Linked DNA regions of Homo sapiens: regions 1 and 2 are each linked to region 3. Evidence: promoter capture Hi-C in 16 types of primary human blood cells and fetal thymus (Javierre and others, 2016). All regions are on one chromosome and are shown on one strand. The core of a region is centred on a gene start or on the middle of the fragment in contact, and the rest is flanking DNA. Distances in the headings are between cores, read along the strand shown. Region 1 overlaps BBOX1-AS1 (BBOX1 antisense RNA 1). Region 2 overlaps BBOX1-AS1 (BBOX1 antisense RNA 1). Region 3 holds the start of LIN7C (lin-7 cell polarity scaffold C).

The links. The method cuts DNA at HindIII sites, captures the fragments that hold promoters and counts their contacts. A CHiCAGO score of 5 or more calls a contact.
Region 1: a fragment that was not itself captured here is called in contact with the fragment with the promoter of LIN7C in region 3 in 1 of 17 cell types (erythroblasts); the score reaches 5.5 in erythroblasts.
Region 2: a contact is called between a fragment that was not itself captured here and the fragment with the promoter of LIN7C in region 3, in 7 of 17 cell types (naive CD8 T cells, activated CD4 T cells, naive CD4 T cells and 4 more). The highest score is 6.8, in naive CD8 T cells.

What each region holds. Positions count from the first base shown.
Region 1 is chr11:27,209,236-27,212,041 of GRCh38, forward strand. The region is part of intron 2 of BBOX1-AS1 (BBOX1 antisense RNA 1); the gene reads right to left. Among named protein-coding and RNA genes, the nearest start is that of BBOX1-AS1, 8.1 kb to the right of the region's middle. The HindIII fragment of the contact is 6,569 bases long and covers 1-2,806 here.
Region 2 is chr11:27,191,243-27,193,970 of GRCh38, forward strand. The region is part of intron 2 of BBOX1-AS1 (BBOX1 antisense RNA 1); the gene reads right to left. Among named protein-coding and RNA genes, the nearest start is that of BBOX1-AS1, 26 kb to the right of the region's middle. The HindIII fragment of the contact is 3,277 bases long and covers 1-2,728 here.
Region 3 is chr11:27,505,280-27,508,074 of GRCh38, forward strand. LIN7C (lin-7 cell polarity scaffold C) reads right to left here and starts at 1,490. Exons shown (of 5, transcript NM_018362.4): 1 at 1,437-1,490. The coding sequence starts at 1,473. It overlaps BDNF-AS (BDNF antisense RNA), which reads left to right and starts at 1,573. Exons shown (of 7, transcript NR_033315.1): 1 at 1,573-1,619. RefSeq lists enhancers at 1,051-2,250, 1,407-1,536, 1,607-1,896. The HindIII fragment of the contact is 9,378 bases long and covers 1-2,795 here.

The sequences.
Region 1 (2,806 bases), core at 107-2,606, 300 kb before region 3:
TTTTATTACTTATAGCCAAATAGATTTTAAATTATATAGATGTTTCCAGAAAGAGGACTATCTTTCTTCTCACCAGGATTATGAAGCTCTAAGACTATTAATAAAATGGCCAACTAGCCACACAAAGATGCAAGATATTGTTTTCCCAATCCAGAAAGCAGAAAACTTTCTTCCTTTAATCTTCCCTTCCCAATGATGACTCTTCCTTGGCTGGGAGGAGATGTTTGCACTTCAGATTTCATACCTCCAAATATTACCTATTGCTTCATTGCCCTTTATATTTGGCCAGGCCTTTATTCATGGTGGCCATTCTGGAGACCCCAGCTGGTTAGGAAAATTGAACTTGTCAAAAATCAGAGTGAGATTCTCCTTGGCAACTGCAAAGGTAAGCTGTCACCAGCCCTGTCAACAGTCACAGCAGAAAGAGAGCTATTTATTCATCTAAGACCTTCATGAGTCACAGTCTAAACATTCTGCAAACCCTCCCCTGGCAAGTCATACCCTGCCCCAGTCTCTGGGGAGAATGCTTCCCACCCAGAGCCACTTCAACACAACAGACTCTTGGCTTTGGCTGTCTAATCTTTGGGCTGCACAAGTGGTCATGTTATTAATGACTCTGAGTCATCATATAGGGTATTTCATCTGGAGTGTGTGTAAAGAGGAGGAAGATGGAGGGCTACTGTAGCCCAGACAAGAAGTGAGGCTTCCCCTTGCTATGCCTCTACCTCACTGTGTACCCTTCAAAATGCAACCAATTTCTTGCATTATAATGCTTCAAATCTCTCCACTTCTTGGTGAACTCCTTTTTTTTTTTTTTTTTAATGAGATTGAGTTTTGCTCTTGTCGACCAGGCTGGAATGCAGTGGCGTGATCTCAGCTCACTGCAACCTCTACCTCCCAGGTTCAAGTGATTCTCCTGCCTCAGCCTCCCAAGTAGCTGGGATTAAAAGCACCCACCACCAGGCCCGGCTAATTTTTGTATTTTTAGTAGAGACAGGGTTTTGCCATGTTGGTCAGGCTGGTCTCGAACTCCTGACCTCATGTGATCCACACGCCTTGGCCTCCCAAAGTGCTGGGATTACAGGCATGAGCCACCGCGCCCAGCTGTGACCTCCCCTTTTAATGCCCTCTTGTTTGTCCGTGTCAAGCAGCATTCAAAGAACTGAACAGTACCCAGATGGGTTTGCACAGTGCTGAGGGTGAGAGAGATGGCAGACAAGGGTTCTGTTTTTTATATATATATATATTTTTTTTTTTAATTTTAAGCCTAGGTTTTTAATTATACTTTTTCATTTTTGTTTTAAATTTCTGCTCCATGCCAGTGTATACAGTGAATATGACCATGCCCTTTGAATGTTAAGCCTTGATGGCACCTTTCATGCAGAGCTTGACTCCGTGTATGTAGTTTAGTTGTTACTTCTTTCAGGAAGTCTCCTCTTATTTATTTAAGTGGTGCTCCGTTTATGAGTCCCTATAACACCTGCTACCTTCCTTAACAAAAGAGTTTATCACACTGGTAATTTGGTCACTCCTGTGACTGCAAGGTCTGTAAGAGCAGGGTCTATCTCGTCACCTATGTCAAGAACATTCTCTGACACATAGTGGGCACCTCAACTAACATATAGCGAGTGAGTGAGTAGATGGGCCACCTTCTACAGCCTTCTACAACGGAGCAAATCCCAAAACTGGCCTTCAGGCCCCCAGACTTGGCCTAGACTTGGTAGAGAAGATGAGGACAGGACTGATCAGAGGGATGTTTCTGATATTCTATCATTCTGTGGTCACGGCAACATCAATACCTTGTGGATATGGACCAAGGCTTATAGTTTCCTGTCCAATAAAAGAGAATCTGGCTGGCCACAGTGGCTCAAACCTATAATCCCAACACTTTGGGAAGCCCAGGCAGGGGATCACTTAAGCCCAGGAGTTTCAGATCAGCACAGGTAACGTAGTGAAACCTCATCTCTACTGAAAAAACTAAAAGTTAGTCAGATGTGTTGGCATGTTCCTGTAGTCCCAGATACTGAGGAGGCTGAGGCAAGAGGATCACTTGAGCCTAGGAGTTCGAGGCTATAGTGAGCTATGATCGCACTACTGCATTCAGCCTGTTCAACAGAGTGAGACCTTGTCTCAAAGAAAGAAAAAAAAAAGATGGAAAAATAGGTCTTAATATTATACGTTTGCTGCGGAGATTAAAGGAGATTGCATGCTCACAGTCTGTGACCCATAGTAAGTGTTCAATACATGCAACTGCTATTATTACGAGCTAAGAAGGGACTAAGAACCAAAATCAATGTTTCTTCCTGTTATAACATAACCCTCCCACCTGAATGTCTGCCCCCTTGTGGTGTTGCCAGGGAATGCTAGGATTTATCTGGCTATCTTTCAATGCCTAATATGACACCTAATTTGAAATCACCTGGCACTCGCACACACAATGTACGCTCTTTTCCTTAAATCCAGATTGTACCTATTTACCTGGACGTATCCAGAACTTGCACTGTGGCCTTTTCCAGATGCAATCCAGCTTTTAAGATTTTATGTGTAATCCCCATCTCTCCCGACCTTACTGGACTTTGCCTCTGGACTCTCTGGAGTATGAGTCCAAGCAGCCCTCATAGACTCTGGCATGGGTTTGTCTGCTGACTCTCCTGGCTCCCCACTTCCTTGATAGGAAGTTCTCGTCATGTCTTCAAGTTCCTCTCAGCTGAGACCACAGCCAACTAGCCAGCTGGCTTCCTGGTTGAACAACCAACACCCCTGGGTCCAGCACAGAAATGGTACCCAGGAAAAGTGTATGGAATCC
Region 2 (2,728 bases), core at 69-2,568, 310 kb before region 3:
CTCTGGCTTCAAATTCCTTAGTGGCTTCCCTTTGCACTGTAATAAAATCCCAGATTCTTGGCAGGGCCCACAAATCACACTGTGAGCTGGTTCTGCCACCTCTGCAGCCTCATCTGCCACCCACCTTCCTTTCACTCCACTCCAGCCACCCTGTCCATTCTGTTCCTTGAAATGTACCAAATAAATACAGAGGAACCTTAATGAATTAGAATGCTGTCATTAACCGAGGAATAAGCAAGACAAGGTTCATTATTCTACTATTTTCCGTTGAAGCTCTTTCCAGAAAGTGTGAATCCAGCGTAGCGCTCTGGAAGTCAAAGTCAGCAAACATGACAGTAATGTTCTTTGTAACCTGAAAATCTGATGGGGCCTTGGCACCATTTTCACCAGTAACAACATTCAGTTGCTACTGTTCAGGGCAATAAGTGAAGATGAAAAAGGTATGGGATTGAGTCTTGACTGTTTTCACAAAATTCACTGAGATTGACTTGTTCATTATTGTTTTTTAGAAAACCTATGCTATTTACTTGTCTGTCCACTAATTGGCCTCTAGGTCCTAACAGTGGAGTATGGAGATTCTCAGTGGCTTATTCGTGCAATTTTTCCATCCCGTATGCATGTGTATTTGTGTATGCAGTTCTATGCCACAGGCAAGTTATTTAAATTCTCTGACCCTCAGTTTTCTCATCTGTAAAAGGAGATGGTACAATCAAGGTTGTTGCAAGTCTTTGCAAAGCACTGAGAGTTGCAGGCCCTCACATTGATAGTTGTTATTAAGAAATGAGGAGGGAATATTCATAAAGAAATCTCCCTCCACATATTTAATCTCACTTTCTCCACAACCAAGATTATCTTACTTTGTTATTACCAATTGCTAAAATTTTAGACTCATAAGTACTATATAAATTTCCTTTTCCCAACCACCTTGTGGTACTCTCCAAAACAGACCTTCACGGTTGGGCAATGGTAACAAGACCCAATTAATGCCACAAAGGCCATGCTGTGGCACCTTGCTAAATTCCTCTTTCTGGGTGTAAATGCTTTAAAAACAGTGTGCTGTTATCTCGAGGACTGGTCCTTGGGTTTTAGATAAGCTGGGACTTTCCATCGGTCTTCTTTCTGCTCATGGTAAACATCACCTTTCTCAGAGGTGCCCTGTCTCTGTTATATATATAACGCTCCACACAGGTCAGATATTCAGACAGAAGGCTCCTGACACTGCCATGAAGAAGGATGGCTCTGGGAGGGGTTTTCCATGTTACATTAGTTTTGAAGGTCAAAAGGTCAGCTCTGGGCAACTTGGGTCCTCCATCAGTAATCCCATCCAGGACAGGACCATCAATTCCCTTCATCTCAGCTGAGACCTAGCATCCCACTATCAGAGCCTAAGCCAATGACCTCTTATAATCTAACGGTCTTTCCCCTTACTAGGTTAGCCTCAAATAGGACATCAGGGGCCTACCCAAAGCCAGCAGGATTTGAAGAAAGTTGGGGAGTTTCCAGCTGTACACAGAAAATAACTTCTTCACAATATGAGGGATTAAAATGTGGGGGAGGGGTAGATCTCTTCAGGAAAATTTATTGAACTTTTGGATATTTTGTTTTGTTTTGTTTTGAGACAGGGTCTTGCTCTGTCTCTCAGGCTGGAGTGCTGTGGCACCATCTCAGCTCCCTGCAACCTCCACCTCCTGGGCTCAAGCAATTCTCCTACCTCAGCCTCCCCAGTAGCTGGGATTACAGGCACACACCACCGCACCTAGCTAATTTTTGTTTTTGTAAAGACGAGGTTTCGCCATTTTGGCCAGGCTGGTCTCGAACTCCTGACCTCAGGTGATCTGTCTGCCTCAGCCTCCCAAAGTGCTGGGGTTGGTTACAGGTGTGAGCCACCATGCCTGGCCTGAACTGTTTAAAGGAGTGATGGTTGAGAGGTTCAAATGTCTAAAGCAGGAGCCCAGAAAAGAAAATCACCTGGATATTTTTTTAATTTTCATAATAAACTTATGCTATGTATCTGCGTAAATAAATGTCATAAAACAACAGTGCAAAAAATGACCCTTCCATTTCTACAAAATGAGAGATTTATGCTAGCAGATTATAGGCCACTGACCAGACACAATGTTGGCCCTATCAGAAATTCTTGAACAGAAAGATAATGTCATTCCTATTTATATTATTATTTATTTTTAAATAAGAGTCAATAAAACTTCTGGTCAACATGTAAGATATTGTAAGAACAATTAGTAAACATTATTTTTACCAAAGTAATCATGAGTATACTTGATTTTAGCTACTGGGGCTGGGGATGGGGATGTGGAACGCACACACGTGAAACAAAACAAGTATGGTCTATATCTCTGGAAGAACTGGAAACAGATATTTAAGAAAAACTGCTTGTCATCTGCACAGCAAGATTAGTGCAACAAATACCACTTGGAATTCATTCTGTATTGGTGACAATGTGAGAGAGATGGGGTATGTTACCAGGAGATTTCTGTGCTGGAAATAGATCACCGTTTCACTGAGTCATGTGTGTGTCTCAATGCATTATGTTAAACTAATCTAAAAAACAACAACAACAACAACCAAACAACAAAAAACCATTTTTTAAAAGACGTGATAATTGTAAAGAATTTTTTTTTATCCTCCAGAGCACTCCCATATCTGTTATCTTACATCTTCTTCAGGGTCCAGGAGTAAAGATCAAAAGTGAATGAGGTTCCAGGTTTTG
Region 3 (2,795 bases), core at 240-2,739:
CGAGATCGCGCCACTGCACTCCAGCCTGGGCGACAGAGCAAGACTACGTCTCCAAACAGCAACAACAAAAACACAAAAGACCAATACGTTAGAATCTTAACTAGCTTTCAAAGAAAAAACTTACTCCTGTTAACACCAAACAGATTTGCTCCCATCTATAAAACACAGTGCCACTGTGCTCAAGAGGAAGATGTCAGAGACTTAGGCCTAACTCGGCAAGTCTTCCCAGAGTAGCTAGTCCTCTAAAATGATGCTTTAATAGGCTTAACGGAAACAATCTCATTTACAGTGAGGCTTCCAAATGGTGAACACGGTAAAGAGCAAATCAGCAACATTAAGTGCACATTTGTTTGTGGGAAGGCATTAGGAAAGAGGTTTTTCTAAGTACAGTAATTCTAAAAATGTGTTTTCTTAGGGAACAATAGTAATATTTAGACTAATTGCAAATGTTAATATGTGCAATATAATTTCAGTCTCCATCCTACATATACATTTTTTTTTACCACCAGTACTCAAAATGTTTATTTGTACTTCTCAATTCCTATCAATGATTTCTAATGCTGGTGTATGAAAAGCATGCTTGAAATTGTTTGAAATAAAGGACTTAGGGACAGAGTGGAATGCTGGAAATCTGTAAAAGGACTGGAAACGCTGGAATGCTGGAAATCATGGTAGGCGCATAGCCAGTTATTTTCGTAGGCTTCTCTATCTCTAATTACTCAGCAGAGGTGGTTTTATTTTCCTTGACAGTCTGCTCTAGGAAGCAATCAGCCAACCAGTTTGCAATTGTAGGGTTTGTAAGAAATGAAAAACACTGCACCTGCAAGTGTTTTAGCATCTACCACTATTCGGCTTACTTACGTAACCTCCTTCCCAAGACCAAGTCAGTAGGATTGTTTTTAAAGCAACCTCTCCATTTCTAGGAGGGGCACAAAAGCTAGCAAATACCCCAACCCGAATACAAGCGAGGTTGTGGAGAAAGTAATGAAGGAGTTTGTGTGCAAACAGCGGGGAAAGGAGGTTCTGTTGAATTGTACCGTGTGTCCGTTCTCGTGCTGTACAGGCAATGAGTGTAGTCTGTGCGAACCGGGTGTGTGACGTTTGCTTTTCGGGTGTACGGGTCTCCGAATGCTGCTTCTGCTGTGCTCACCAAGGGAGCGCGTGTGCGGCGTGTGTCTGCGAAGCGGGCAGGTTGTGTTTAGTTGTGCTGTGCCTTGGAACAGTCCGTGTGAACAGAGGAGGGCTTACGGTTAACAGACAAAATACCGTAAGCGCCCTTCCTAGAGCCAGGCACAGAGACAACGGCGGCCTCTGGCGCCGGCACAAGGGACAGCGTGGCCCGGATCTCAGAGCCTGGGTCACTCCTCCTCCCCTCCAGCGACACAGCACTCCCCCAACCCTTCCGCCCACCTCCGCCGAGCCTCGGCTGCACTCACCTCTCTCCAGCCGCACGGGTTCCCCTAGCGCCGCCATCTTCTCCCTTAACCTACAGACCCACAGGAAATGACGACAGAAGGGCTGAGGTGGGGGGGCGGGGCCTAGGGGAAGCCGGAAAAGTGAGTACCGGCTAGTATCGCGAGATCAGGAAGGTGGCCGAGTGTGTCGCCGCGGCCATCAGGGTAAGGGTACCTGGACTTGCGGCTTTTTAGGTCGGCCTGGCTCCGCTCCTTCCGCGGTGACGAGGTCCCCCGGCCTCCTAGGGTTGGGAAGAGCTGCTTTCCTGACTCTCGTTCCCTGCCTCAGGCTTCCCTTATCCCAATCGCTTCGAACCCTTGGCTCAGCGTAGAGGAGTCAAGCCTGGATTCTAGTCCCACCTTGCCCATTAGCAGCTCTGTGACCTGGGACTGTTCACTTACCCTCTCTCAGCCTCAGTTTCCGCATCTGTACAACGAGAGGTCCTATCTCTTAGGTCCTTACAATTTTTAAACTCTGGGATTCGGTGGCAATTAAATGTGTAATGACATGTTGTCAGTTCTCAATTTGTGACAGCATTGCTTTAAATTTAAAAATCCACGGCTTGAATCTTCCCTCCAAATCTGTTAAGGGGTGGAAAGTACAAAGAGCATGAAACATATCTGGGTGAGGGAGAGAACAAGGTGCTTTGGTGCACCACAAAGTAACAATTTTATAAGCAGCTGATTCTTATAAAATCTTAAGTAAATGAAATATTGTGAAGCAAATAATATTCTTAATGCATTACAGATTTTTGAGCCACTTCTGAAATTTTCGCGAACCAAGAAGAATTTTAGTACTTGGATTTGACTAACATTTATCCAAGCCCTTAGTCTGTACTGATACTGTGGTAGGTGTGTTTACATCCAGCATTTCAACACTTCATGATGGGACTGTTTTAATAACCTGTTTGCCCCTGGTCCACCCTTTCCATTCACCTTTAGTATTTTCTTCTCCAAATCCATCATGGATGCCACCACTATGCTCCTTTTTCTCCCCTTGAATTCTGATTTCATCATCACAAGTTCTGTTCAGAAACTTTCAATGGTTTCTCTCCTGTTTCCTATTTCTAAAGCCTTGCATACTCTGACCCTAACTCATCCAACTAACTTCATTTCTCATTACCACTAAGTGCAACCACCACTTCAGTCCAGATAGTATAGTTTCAACCATATTTATTCCTGATTCCAAGTCTTTTTGTTTGTTTTAGAGACAGAGTTTCTCTCTGTTGTCCAGACTGGAGTGCAGTGGTGCAATCACAGCTCAAGAGAGCCTCCTGTCTCAGTCTTGCCAGTAGCGAGGACTACAGGCAAGCACCACCATGCCTGGCAAATTTTTAAATT